Regions from separate parts of the Homo sapiens genome. Here all the other regions are linked to region 3. Evidence: promoter capture Hi-C in 16 types of primary human blood cells and fetal thymus (Javierre and others, 2016). All regions are on one chromosome and are shown on one strand. The core of a region is centred on a gene start or on the middle of the fragment in contact, and the rest is flanking DNA. Distances in the headings are between cores, read along the strand shown.

Region 1 (3,651 bases), core at 888-3,387, 210 kb after region 3:
TAGTAAATGTTTTCCCAGCACCAATAAAATGTTCAAAAATAAGGGTAATAATAAAGGTAAATAAAATAAAGGTAAGAGTCATATACTTTTGTTCATATCATTAATAAACACACAACCATGAGATTGGTTTCCTTCATGCACATATAACATATATGAAATAATTTCAGAAAACTTGAGTTCTCAGTATATATGCCTGTAACTTTAAGTTCTGATTTTCTGCAAACAGGCCATAAGAAATAATTAATACACACACACACACACACACACACACACACACACACACAGAACAAATCGACACAAGCTACACTGACCACTGGAGTTAACTGTTGTAGCAATCTTGCCTAACAGACAAGGAAAATAATGTATGTATTTTACTGCTAAATGTAACATTTTCTGAAAGCATAAGAATTTCTAAGAAAACCCCTGGTGGCAAACAACTGCATATTATTAACTTCACTATTTTATTCCTCTACTGCTCAGTAGCAAAAAGCTGACACAATCATAATTAAGCTAAACTAACAATTTAAAAATATGTATTTATAGTATAAATGCAAGTACTTCCTCTAAAAGGGACATCTACTGGGGGGAAATGGTTCTTTGCATGTGTGTTTGAGAGCCAAATTTTCATTTCTTAGATTTTTTTAATTTTTAAAATATCCAAGCCTACTAAAACATTGAAAGAATAGTACAAGAAATCAGTATTCTTTCATCTAAATTCACTAATTGTTAGTACTTTGTCCTATTTGTTCTCCCTTCTCTATATTATGCCCTCCCCAAGCACTTCAAAGTAAGTTGCAGGCATGCAACACTTCACCTTTAAATCATTCAGCACTTACCTACTAAAAAAACAAGAACCTTCTTCAATACAACCACGAAAACATTATCACACCCAAGAAATTAACCCTCTGTACCTGGAAGAGCAGTCATTACCATTTACCACCCAGGTCCATAAGCTCTTTTAATTTATATAAATTTTAGCCAGGCAAAAAAAACAAAACAAACAAAAAAAAAAAAAACAGAAGCAATGATAAGCTAGAATCTATTTGATATAAACTAGATGTATTTGAAGCCTGGAATCAGTATTTACATAAATGGATATATCCCAGGTTCATACATGACAGAATTAATGAGCAGTTAGTTGATGAGACTTCAAAGAATGCTGCCCTTTTGGGATATATATCTTTAAAACAAACAAAAGTGGCTCACACCTGTAATCCCAGCACTTTGGGAGGCCGAGGTGGGCGGATCACGAGGTCAAGAGATCGAGATCATCCTGGCTAACATGGTGAAACCCCGTCTCTGCTAAAATACAAAAAAAAAAAATTAGCCGGGCATGGTGGCGGGTGTCTGTAGTCCCAGCTACTTGGGAGGCTGAGGCAGGTGAATGGTGTGAACCCGGGAGGCGGAGCTTGCAGTGAGCAGAGATCGCGCCACTGCTCTGTAGCCTGGGCCAACAGGGCAAGACTCCGTCTCAAAAAAAAAAAAAAAAAAAAAAAAAAAAGGACTAAGATTTTGGCTTTCCTGTTTAAATTTTTATTAAAATTTCTGCCATGTTATGTTTCACTATCCTTTTATTACATCTGTAAATTATTCATAAAATGACTTCAAATTTATATAAATTTCACCCAGGCTGGAGTGCAGTGGCACGATCTCGGCTCACTGCAACCTCCGCCTCCCGGGTTCAAGCAATTCTCCTGCCTCAGCCTCCCGAGTAGCTGGGATCACAGACGCCCACCACCATGCCGGGCTAATTTTTTCTATTTTTAGTACAGACGGGGTTTCACCATGTTGGCCAGCCTGATCTTGAACTCCTGACCTCAGGTAATCTGCCCACCTCTGCCTCCCAAAGTGCTGGATTACAGGCATGAGCCACCGCACCCAGCTGCTTCTGGTTTTGCTTGCACTTGCCCTGTCAAAATGCAATCAAGATTCCAGACTTCAAAAGTATCTTCATTAAATTCTAGTTTATCATTACTTCTGGTTTTTCCTCTTGCACTTGCATCTTCAAAACAGAATACCTTAAAGAACTCAGATGGCTCATAATTTTGTTGAAGAAAAGAGAGCCATCTTCTTTGCTCCATAATTGCAAAATATTTTTATTTTTAGATTTATAAAAACCAATTAAACTGATCAATCCAATAAAATCGTTCATTTCTATATCACTCATTTCCTTCCAGTCATTGTTATACACACACCTGTCTTTGGCATCTGTCCACTAAATAACCGCATCAAGTAAATTCTGGTGCACAAACATCATAAAAGATGAAAAAATACTGTCAATGGTCCTATTAGCAAACGGGATGGTCCAGCATCTTGCTGCAATAAAATCCTTCCTGTTGAATGACTATGTGAGTTTGAATACTATTTCTCCTTCTGTCCTTAGACACATTGTTCACTGTCAATTCTTGAGTTTGATGAAATTCACCTTAGACAACTAGGTTGGCAAACTTCTGTGAAGTTTCAGAAAGTAGATATTTTAGGCTGCAAAACAAACCCGCCTGTCTCAACGACTGAACTCTGCTTTTGTAGCAGAAAAGCAGCCATAGACAATATGTAAATTAGTGGACATGGCTTTCCTAATAAAACTCTGACCAGCTTGTCAACCTTAGACCTAGGATATCATCATCTGATAATCTATATTGACATTTCTTCTATATAATCAATTTAACCATTATCATTAGAGTCCAGAGTGCCATTACCTGTTCACCTGATTTGTCTAATAATTAGAAAAATCTTCCTCTGTCAAAGAATTGCTGTTTGCCAATATGGGCTGAAAATAAACAATTAAAAGTTTTCAACTGTGTTTAACAAAGTGTGTTCAATGAAAATTTAACAGACAACAAAGACAGTGTCTTCAGGCTGCCTTTATACCTTGTTGAAGATGATGCAACACCTTGGGCAACGCAATAAGAAAACTGAAGGATGACACAATCGGATCATGTATTTCACAAATACAGAATTCTTTTGTTTGATTTTTATGTTAGTCTTTTTACTTGTAGTATAATTGGGAGTAATTCATAAGCAATGAGCAAATAATTCCTAGGATGATGGAGTGGCAAAATGTTTCAGGATAAGATCACTAAAATCCCTTCATGAGGCTTACATTTCTAAAGGGACCTGTGTGGTAATTGCAAGATATAATGACTTTTGGCTGCTCCAATGGTAGTGGGTTATCAAAATTTATTAACATTAGTTCACTAAAGTTGATATATAACCCCCCATTGCTAAATCTGACTGGCTTTAAAATGAAAAAATAAATAAAATGTTTAAAAGATATAATGACTTTCATTCTATTAAAAACAGGTAAATTGTTTTCTTTGTTCTGTGGAAGACCTCTAAGAAAAAATAAAAGTAATGAAATGTCAAAGTATATAAAGATTTAGAACTGTTCAAAAAAGAAACTCAAAAATTAATATTGGGCAAAAAGGACCCTGATGGTATATTACAGTTTAAACATATCATCAAGTATTTCCAATTACGTGAAAAATGTTATTTTATTTTGTTCTTTGATCCAGGATCCAATCAAGGTTCATGCATTGCTTTTGGTTACCATGTCTCCTTAGTTAGCGTTCTTCAACCTAGAACATTTCCCACTCCTCTAGGTTTTAAAAACATCTTTCATGACAATGACATCTTTTTAAAAATCTAGAC
Region 2 (3,635 bases), core at 132-2,631, 190 kb after region 3:
AAAAAAAAAAGAATGAATAACAGATTACATGAATAAATGAATAATGAATGAAATAATGCAGCAAATAGAGTCATTTCTTATTATTCACAGTAATTATATGCTATGAAGTTACCTCGAACACTGAATTTAGCAGCAAATACTGAACCACTGCTCCTGGGGGCAACACAGGGTTAGGTTCCTGTGTGCCTCTGGTCACAACATTTTCATCAACCATTAAATACATAACCTTGTGTTATATGTGTATCTCTTTAAAGACACCTTATTTCGTATATACCGTTGATTCATTAACACTGAACTCACAGCAACAACACTGGAACTCATGCCTGTATGAAGCTTATCTAACACATGCATACTCTCCAAAAGATGTATCACAGCCTTCTTGCTCTTAGGAACACTGTCTAGACAGCACTTTAGCACGAGGCTTGGGGACCATTTTAAATGGCAAAATCACTAAGAACAACAACAATAAAATCCCACAAAAATGTAAAAAAGTGTGGCCCTGAAAAGACCATGAAAAGAGGACTTGTTTACAGCGTGAGAGCTGAAACAAGGCGGAGAACTGCCTTGCTTGGCCACAGCCGGGAACAGGCAGGTCATATGACTCAAATTTTTTACTTCTCTGTGATTATTTGCAAGTGACCACAATGCCTCTGCTAGGGTGTGTGTGTTGGGGGGGGGGGCAGTTAATTATATTGAAGTTTGTCTTAATAAGTAAACCATAATTAACTCAATTGTATTTTTAATACTAGAAAAAATTTGCCTGTAAGCATTCAAGTCATGTTATTATTTCCTTGATATTCTGCTGTTATTATAATTCAATCCTAAGGAGTATGACGTGGAGCGAGTTTCCAGTTTATAACAGGACACCCATATTCTATGTGTGTCTCCACTTCCTTGTGGGGCTCCAAACCATAAGAGGTGGTGACCAGGTACCTCCTGATCCACTGTGAGGGGCTAGGAAGGGAGGGAGCACTCAATGAGACTGGGACCCTATCTAGTAAATAATTTAATCTTGTCTCAGAAGAGGTCTAGACCTTGCCTTCAAAGATAATTTTTGTTTGCCTGGGGCCAGCCAGAGAGTAACTTGGGGCTTTGGGTCACTGGTATCAGTTAAGGAACCACATGGACAGTCAATCAACCATGCTTATGCAATAAAGCCCCAATGAAAGCTCTGAACACCGAGGCCGGGAGAGCTTCTCTGGTTGGAAATATCCCACGTGGATCATCACACATAAATGCAAGAAGAAGCCAGCGACATAACTGTAATCCCAGCTACTCTGGAGGCTGAGGCAGGAGGACTGCTTGAGCCCAGGAGTTCAAGATCAGCCTGGGCACCAAGGAAGGAAGGAAAGGGAGGGAAGGGAGGAAGTAAGGAAGGAAGGACAGGAGGAGAGAAGGAAGGGAGGGAGGGAGGGTGGGCATGTGTCCTGACTCCAAGGAGAGAGGACAATGGAAACTCTGTGTTTTGCATTTCTCCTGGACGCTGTCCTGTGCCTGTCTTCCCCTGGCTGATTTTAATATGTATCCTTTCCCGGCAATAACCATGAATGTAAGTAATGTTTAGTGAGTTCTGTTGAGTCCTTCTAGTGAATTTTAGTCCATGAAGGTGGTTGGGGAACTCCCCCACTCAATTTGCAGTTGGTGTCAAAAGTGAGGGAAGTCTTGGAGATTTTGTAGTTGGCCCTAACGCCTCACAGACCCTGTGCAAAGCTGCACCTATGAGCCGTGAGGGCCTCCCGGAGATCATTCTGACTTTGGAGAAGGTGAGAAAGAAAGGCTAATTCTCAAAGTCCTTACTCTAAGAACTGTGTACTTAGTGCTAGGTGGCGCTTTCTTAGGGAACATCAACCTTTACTTGCTCTGTGACTTTAGAAAATTTACTACCTCTCTGCATCTTAATCTATTTATTTATAAAATGGAATAACAATATCATCTAAAATGGGAATAGTAACAACATAGGTTTGTTGTTGAGAATTAAATTAGGTATCATCTATAAAGCACCTTGTACTTAGGAGACCTTCAGTAAATAAGAACCCTCTCCTGCCTTCACCAAAAGTTATTCTGAAAACACAATATTACCATATTAGCCTCAAGCCGCTGTTAATGATTTCAGCCATGTATTCCCTTCTTACTATCTTGGTCTTCCATGTACACCTGCTCTGTTATAAAAGACATTATTCAAGATGCTACAGATCACAATCATGGCCAAATAAATTTAGTATTTGGCAAAAAAATAAGAAATATTAGGGGAAAAGTTTGAATTTCTTTTAATATTCTTTTAATATTTCTTTTAATATTAAAACAATTCTAATTAATGACATTTAAGAGCACTGTTTAGGTTTTAAATATATTTTCCTAGCAATCTATTTTTTGCTGGTAGAAGTCTAAACTGGCATAACCTCTCTGGAGAGCAATTAGCTATATATACCATAAGCTTAACTGTGTAACAGGTATCTATTAAGGCAGAGATTAGATGAGATGTTCTTTGAAGGAGAACACTTAAAAATTATTTTGGCCTTTCTTATGTTTATGGGTAGAGACCTTAGATCACTGGTGTGGATCCTTTTGCTGAGAGAAAAGCGGCTTGAATGTTCCTTTAGTTGACCAGTGGGTAGGTGCCACTGTCCTTAGGACTCAGGGGAGGAGGGGACACTGGGAGGGGAAAGTTGAATGGCTTAGGAAAAAGTGCCTCAATCTCTTGATATGCAGAATTAGTTGCTGAAGGCAGGAGGACCAATTTTCCAGGACGCTAAATCTTCCTGAAAAGGAAGAAACATTACCCCAATCTTTAATTCCTGAGATTCAAAATTAAAGAGTTCTGTCACAGAAGACACTCATAGCTCAAGCCAAGTCCCACTGGCAAGAAGAGGCAGAGACATTCCTGAAATAAAATGGCCTTGAAGAAGGAATAACTGAAACTGGTGATCTAAGGTCACACAAAAAGCTTCTGCGTTTATCAGGTAGGACAGATTCTGGCACAGCCTAAGGTGGATGCTGGAAGTGTCTCTGACCTCAGCCTCCCTGGTACACTAAATCCTTCAGTAAAAGAAAATGAACTTTTAAAAAACTGCAATCTTGACCTTCAACTGCGGTGACTGCTGTGACCTGGGCCATGGTCTGACCAGAAACAGGATCCTAGTGGCAGTTCAAGCAACTATTGCCAAACAGTGCAGGGCTGGTCTTAAATGCTGAGAAAAAATGATGATGGGAAGGAAGAGCAATAGTGTAGTTGGTTCTTTTTCTGGCATTTGGAGGCAGATGGGATGACTCTGGGACTGGGAAAGCCTCCTGGGGCTCAAACTTGGAGGCGGAGACTGTCTAAAAAGGAACATAATAAATTTCCTGCTGATTAATAGAAAAAAACATGAGAGTGTAACAGGTCATGCCAGTTCCTTCTGCATACCTTTAGACCCAGCAGTTCTATTTTTAGAAATTCATTGTAAACAATTAATTAAGGATGTTAGAAAAATATTAATACAGAAGAATATCACAATATTACTTTTAAAGACTAAAATACTGTACTCAACCTAAATGTCCAACAACTGAAAACCAGCTTAATCCATTATGATTAAGTATGATTAAGTATTCCAGTTTGAAGATACCTGGACTACATGAAAAGGACTTTACCTTTTAAT
Region 3 (3,329 bases), core at 130-2,629:
TGGACTGCCTGATCTAGCTCTAAATTTCTATAAAACACCCATGGAAATCAATGCCAGCAAACTCGAGATTTGACCTAAATACATATCACATACTTCTTTAATAGCTAATCATGCATTTTTGGTTAGCAATAACCAAAATCCTAAGAGATCTCTTAAGGATGTTTACATTAAAGCATATCATTTAAGAATTTTCCTGTGACTGTGGTTTTGCGTGCACGCATGTGTGTGCACGCGCGCGCACACACACACACACACACACACACACATCAGGCCAGCTTTGGCTGGACAGAGTCCAAATCCCACATGATATAATTTATCTGAGTTTAGGCTCTTTCACTCAACTCTGATATTGAAAAAAATTAATAATAAAGCTTTTTGCCTCTTGACCAGAAGGCCTGTGTTTTTCAGAGCAATATTGGAAATGAAAAATCACAGGATGTCAGCCACCTTGTTTCTCAGTTGGGATGATATCACCAGTAAACTTTTATGTGAAGCAATCAGCAAACATCTCCTGTTTCCCTCTAGCGGAAGTCTGGGATTCAGGATGGTGTTTCAGCTGCTGTGTTAGGACACATTCCAGAGTAGAATGCAGGTCAAATGCTGTGCAAGGTTTTATAGTTTCAATTCAAACCCAAACCTATATATAGTAACATCTTAAAAAAAAAAAGTAGGTAGGAATGTATTCATATGGAATTTTTTTTAACTTCAGAAATTTTGAAAAAATTAAAAAATATTTGTCTCTGTGGAGAGAGTTTAGTTATGATTATTAACTGGTTTCTATCTCCAGCACATGTAGCTGTCAATCAGTCCTCTTTATTATTAGAATTCTCCTGGAGCAGTAAAGGGACTTGTTAACTCCATTGTATGTGATTATAAGGCACTGTTCTAAGTATCCATAGTTGTTTAAATATGAACCCCCGGACACTACCATGATCCACAAGTGGTCCAGGTCCTACAAATGGTGCCGAGTGTTCAGAGGGATGAGTCGGCTGCCAGGCATGATGGAGGGAGAGACATGCGTGTCTATCTTGAAGTCTTTGACCAGGCAGTTTCTATTTTAATTAGATAAGGCAAACTAAAAATCTTTATCCAAAAACTCAATCAAGCTAACATCAGGAAGAAACTGACAGAGCAGCCCCTGGTTGGGGAGGCTCTGCCATTCTGTGGTCTCATCAAAGAAGCAAGACTTTGATTTGGGGGCCTCCAGCACTTTAGCCTCAAAGGAGAGCCCTCTCCCCACCCCTGACCCCAGCACTTACCTGAGCAAAGGCTAAAGAGCAGGAGGAGAGGCCAGGGCTCCATGGGCTACCGGAGCTTGTGTGGACCAGGGCAGAGTGGTGGCCTGTGCTTCTCACTGGCACTCTGGCTGGGTGCTTGTCTGCTGGAGGGTTTGGAAAGCGAGTCGGCTCACTAGAGCTATTGTTTTACACCACCTGTTTGTGGGAGCGACAGCTGGGCTGCCCTCAGCCCTGGAGCCCAGGGAGTTACTGGGACTGTACACCATTACAGATATGCCTCACTTTACACAATTGCTTACCCTTGACAAGCTGAGTATGAACTGCATTATATTTTAAATGCACCAGTAGTCAGATCTTAATGAAAAAAAAATGTATAGGAAGGAAGGAATTATTTTAAATGGTGAGCAAACTGCCTCTCTTTTGTGTAAACCAGAACCTCATCTCTGTGGGTTGACTTGATTAGGGTCATTTGGTCTGAGTAGATAGTCAGCTGTTTGTCCTAAACCACAAAAATCCACATTCTGCAAACATGGCTTCAGTTTCATTTCCTCTGCTTCAGTGTTAGGCTGAGGGTGCCGGGGGCTTTTCTGACTGCCTGGATTTCAGAAAAGTGTAGCTGGTGTTGAGTCTGCTGCTGGGAAGCCCCCACGTTGATTGGGTTTGGTTTTTAACAAAGACAGCTTCTTCCATAAAACTGGCTTTACTGGCCCCCAGAGTGGCTGTTCCAACCCCTGCCTCTGTATCAGGCAATACCTATCCCACACGAACCATTAGCTGGAGCAAATTGCCCACGTCCTATGCACTGTGATTCAAGCGAAGAGTAATTATTGGGAAAAAGTGTCCCACCGCATCAGCAGTCGTTCCGGGTTCCTGCCTCCTTCCATCCGTCCCTCTGCCTACTCTCACTCAGGGAAGCAAAGAGCAGAGTGGTTCAGCTTTTCAATTATCTTGCTTGAAAAACATCCTAAAAACCAGCAGTTAGTAATTTCTCAGTCTGAGAAGTATTGTTACCCTAGCTGTGCTTCTTTGCAGGGTGTGAGGTGAGTTCCCAGAAGGAGACAGTTACTTAAAGGTACCCTGCCTGTTCCTTCCAGGCCTCCTTCCCACATGGAACTAGGTGAGAAAGGTCCTCTCACCTCAAGCCCACAACAACATCCTGACAGATCCTCTCATTCCAGTGGATCCAAACAAATCATTAGAGAAGGGGCTTGGAGGGTAGAGGAGAGAGCTGCAAGCTCATACTATTTATATTTTTTGTTTAAACTGTGGGAGATCAGTTAACTGTTTGCTAAAAAAAAATTTGGTTCTCTCCCTTCCATGGAATAGCCCCGTGGCAGAAATACAACCCCCACCCTCTGACCAGCCCCTTCCATCTAAATGGAGCCATGGGACTGACCTCTGGCCAGTGGCATGAGTGGAAAAATGTTCTCAGACTCACAAACCTACCAGAGCTCAGCCCCGCCCTTCTAGTCTTCTGACCGGCTAGAATGGACATGGTCCCAAAGTTAACCTTAGAAACCATGTTCTGAAGGTGGTGTTGCTTTTGACATTCTGAATCCTTGAATGACTGCATGGAGGGGGACCCCCTATCCACCTGCTCACCACCCAGCACTATTTCAATGAAAACAAAACATGCATCGTGCTGAGCCATCAAAATCCTTGGGTTTATTTGTACAGCAGCTAGTGTTCCGTAATTAATAAAATATGTAATCCTTTGCACTAGTATCCTGAGGTTAAAAATAAATTCTAAAATATGTAGCACTGCAGCAGAAGGCAAGAAAATTGATACTGGAGGCTGAAAATATGAAGACCCATGTTATATGGTATCAAATCATTTCATAAACTGTTGTCCTCAATTACTTGGTGAACAATGTGTCTACTGAGCCTGTAGCTCCCAGAATAGAGGCTGGTAAACCCAAAGTTAGTGCACCATGGCTCTTTCTGGCTTTGTTTAGCAAGTCAGTACAAGGAAGAGCTGAGCTCAGGCAAAAATGTGCTGGTTCAAGAGCAGAAATGAAAAGAAATAGAATGAGTCCAGAAATGTGGAGTCTTCTGTTTTGAACTTCAAAAGAGTAAGTGAAAACATGGAAT
Region 4 (3,544 bases), core at 434-2,933, 170 kb after region 3:
GGGGAGGAAGGTGAAGCTCAGTTCTGTTTTGAACAGGCTATTTCTGTTGGAGATGTCTATTAGACATATGAGAGGGGATGTAGAGTAGGAAACTGGATATATATGTGTGTATATATATAGGTATATAGGAGTTTGGGAGAAAGGACTGGACATATAAAGAAATGTAAGTTACATTAAAACCTGAAACTGGTAAGATCATAATAAAGTAAATATAGGTAGAGAAGAGAAGAGGAGAGGATTTGGGGGCACCCCAAAATCAAGAGATCAGGTTGAAGCAGCACCAGAGAAATAGACTGTGGGGGCAAAAGAAAAAATAAAAGAATGTAGTATCCTGGAAACAAAGTGAGAAAAATGTATCAAGGAGGAGAAAGTCATCACTTGTATCAGATGCTCCTAATGGGATGATGAGAGGAAAAAAAAAACTACTAGATTTGTATGTATAGGGAAGTCAGTACTGACCTTACCAAAGCAGTTCTGCTTGGAGTGGCAGTGGGTAAAGTTCTGAGTGCAGACAGCAAGTACAGACAACACTTTGAAATATTTTCTACAAAAGAAAGCAAAGAAATTGAGCGAGGCAAATGGAGAAAGCAGGGTCAAGAGAACTTTTTAAGATAGGAGAAATAATAGGATATTTGTGGGCTGACGAAAATGATCTTGCAGAAAGGGAAAAGCTGTTGATGGTGGAGGAAAGGAGAAAATTGCTAGGATTATGTCCTTAAGCAGATAGAGAGGAAGTGAGGTTTAGTGTAGTGAAGAGCTAGCTATCACCTATGAGGTTAAGCAAGAATGCAGAACATACAGACACAAATACTGATGGTTGGGTGGATGTGACAGTGGAAGTTTGTGGAAGTTCTCTTCTGATGGCTTTAAGCAGGAGTAAAGTAGGATACAAAATTATGAGCTGAAAATTAGGAGAGGGAGTAAGGTATCAGAACAGTGGTCCCCAACCTTTTTGGCACCAGGGACCAGTTTCGTGGGAGACAATTTTACAATTTTTCTACAGACAGGGGTCAGAGGTGAGGGGATGGTTTTGGAATGATTCACGCACATTACATTTAGTGTGTACTTTATTTCTATTATTATTACATTGTAATATATAATGAAATAATTATACAACTCACCATAATGTAGAATCAGTGGGAGCCCTGAGCTTGTTTTCTTGCAACTAGACAGTCTCATCTGGGGGTAATGGGAGACAGTGACAGATCATCAGGCATTAGATTTTCATAAGAAGTGCACAACCTAGATCCCTTGCATGGGCAGTTCACAATAGGGGTCACACTCCTATGAGAATCTAATGCCACTACTGATCTGACAGGAGGCAGAGCTCAGGCAGTAATGTGAGCAATGGGGAGTAGCTATAAACACAGATGAAGCTTCACTTGCTCACCTGCCTGCTGCTCACCTCCTGCTGTGCGGCCCAGTTCCTAACAGGCCACAAGACGGTACCAGTCTGTGGCACAGGGGCCGGGGACCCCTGTATTAGAGGTTTGAGAAGAGAGAAAGGGCATGACATGAATAAAGGCAGTACAGGGAGCATTAAGTACCAACTTGAAGTTCAGAAATTCCGAAATATTTCATTTTCCTCCAGCCATACTGTTACTTGGCAGAATGTGCAGAATAGGCAGAGATAGCAATAGGGTTGCAGTTTTGCCAAGCAAGTATGACATGAAAGAAGATTAGGAGAGTTGACTGGTTCCTGAAAATCTACTAGACTCCCTCTCATGCAACCCATGACCATCTTGTCAGCAAGTCCTGAGAATTCTACTGCTTTAAATATTCCCCTTTCCTAATCCCTCTTGACTATTCTCAGAACCAGTGTCTTGTAGGTTCTTTTCACTTATCACAAGGACTACTGTAATAGCCTCCTAAACCAGTCTTTTTGTCTCTAAAATATCCATCCTCTTCCCTGCAGCCAGTTGTTCTTCCTAAGCCTAATCAATCACGTTTTTCTCCTGCTTAAAATACTTTCACTTCTATAGTCTAAACTCTAAGCTTAGGACATAGAACCCTTTATTACTAATGCCTGGTTAGCTTTCCGGGCTTATCTTTTACCACTCTCCCACAAGTACTCTGCCCTTGGCCAGAGGAGCTGCATACATATGTATCAAGGTAAGTACTACCAACTCTGCGCTTCTGCACTAAGTAAAGGTTGAGCTACCGCTCCATTCCCCACCTAGACTGGAAGCTCCTTCAGGAGAGGGATTTTGCTTTATTTGACTTGAAACCTGAGGGCCTGGCAGATGGTAGCCCCTCCAAGAATGCTGACTGAATGAACAAATACATACATGTGACAGAAAGAACCAGAGCATCTCTAACAGATATAGGTATTAATGCACACATTTTGTAAGCCATATTATAAGAACATTGTATTGAAAAATAAATTACACAAAGATATCTCATTCATTCATTCCACCCTATAAGCATTTAACAACCTATACTACACACCAGTCAGCATACCTAGGTGCTGAACATAATCTGCTTGGGGGAGACAGGTGAGTAAAATGATTACAGTCAATTTCCTACTTCTATAAGTAGGTCTTTAGAAAAACATTTTTAAAACATGTGTTGGCCTGGCACGGTGGCTCACGCCTGTAATCCCAGCACTTTGGGAGGCTGAGGCAGGAGGATCGCTTGAGCCCAGGAGTTCAAGACAAGCCTGGGGAACATAGTAAGACCTTATCTCTACAAGAAAACAAAACAAAACAAAAAAGCCAGGCACGGCGGTGCACACATGCAGTCCCAGCTACTCAGGAGGCTGAGGTAGAAGGATCACTTGAGCCTGGCAATGCAAAGCCACAGTGAGCTAAAATTGGGCCACTGCACTCCAGCCCAGGCAACACAGCAAGATTCTGTCTCTAAAAAATATATTAAAAGTAAATAAAAATAAAACATGTGCTACCAAAATACATACTCAGTATTACTCTAATTGGTATTGTAGTTAGAATTTGAAAACAGTGTAAATTGTGTAATTTTATCTACATTTCTCATTACACTAATAGCACTGACTTGTGTTTCAGTACATTTTGTCCAGCCTCAGTCTACTTTACCCATTTAGCCTAGAGAAAGACAACCTCATTGTTACTATAATGTGCACCTGTACTCAAAAATGCTATCCAACTCCCTGCAACACTAACTTGAAAAATGTGTCACAGGGAATAGAAATTTGGCTTTATATGTTTAAAAAAAATCATCACTACATTTCCCACTGTGTGGATAGCAGGGGGAAAAGTGCGTCCACTTTGAGGGTCCATGTTTAATAATGGTCCAGTGCCAAATACACTGTATTAATATCAGTGAACAAAAGATATGGAGCTTCTCTCATATCTCTATCTGAATTAGATAGATTTTATACCTATGTAATAAATAGATATAGCTTATACCTATGTAATTTATACTTGTGTCTACTCAGTCACTCTATATACATACATGCACACACACACATATATAGATACACATTTACTTGAATTCAACCAAGTGCTTAACATGAAATAACAAACAAAACCATTTTTACACAATAGAAAATAATAGTATATATTTTACA

What was found. Contacts are between HindIII fragments. The CHiCAGO score rates a contact against its expected background, and 5 or more counts as called.
Region 1: a contact is called between a fragment that was not itself captured here and the fragment with the promoter of CHRNA1 in region 3, in 13 of 17 cell types (naive CD8 T cells, naive CD4 T cells, total CD4 T cells and 10 more). The highest score is 17.9, in naive CD8 T cells.
Region 2: a contact is called between a fragment that was not itself captured here and the fragment with the promoter of CHRNA1 in region 3, in 8 of 17 cell types (total CD8 T cells, naive CD8 T cells, naive CD4 T cells and 5 more). The highest score is 10.9, in total CD8 T cells.
Region 4: a fragment that was not itself captured here is called in contact with the fragment with the promoter of CHRNA1 in region 3 in 6 of 17 cell types (naive CD8 T cells, activated CD4 T cells, naive CD4 T cells and 3 more); the score reaches 8.2 in naive CD8 T cells.

What each region holds. Positions count from the first base shown.
Region 1 is chr2:174,974,654-174,978,304 of GRCh38, forward strand. The region is part of intron 1 of CHN1 (chimerin 1); the gene reads right to left. Among named protein-coding and RNA genes, the nearest start is that of CHN1, 29 kb to the right of the region's middle. The HindIII fragment of the contact is 7,564 bases long and covers 1-3,651 here.
Region 2 is chr2:174,956,778-174,960,412 of GRCh38, forward strand. All of the region lies in intron 1 of CHN1 (chimerin 1), which reads right to left. Among named protein-coding and RNA genes, the nearest start is that of CHN1, 47 kb to the right of the region's middle. The HindIII fragment of the contact is 2,101 bases long and covers 332-2,432 here.
Region 3 is chr2:174,763,093-174,766,421 of GRCh38, forward strand. It overlaps CHRNA1 (cholinergic receptor nicotinic alpha 1 subunit), which reads right to left and starts at 1,380. Exons shown (of 9, transcript NM_000079.4): 1 at 1,260-1,380. The coding sequence starts at 1,302. RefSeq lists an enhancer at 1,381-1,880. The HindIII fragment of the contact is 3,214 bases long and covers 370-3,329 here.
Region 4 is chr2:174,933,074-174,936,617 of GRCh38, forward strand. All of the region lies in intron 3 of CHN1 (chimerin 1), which reads right to left. Among named protein-coding and RNA genes, the nearest start is that of CHN1, 71 kb to the right of the region's middle. The HindIII fragment of the contact is 619 bases long and covers 1,375-1,993 here.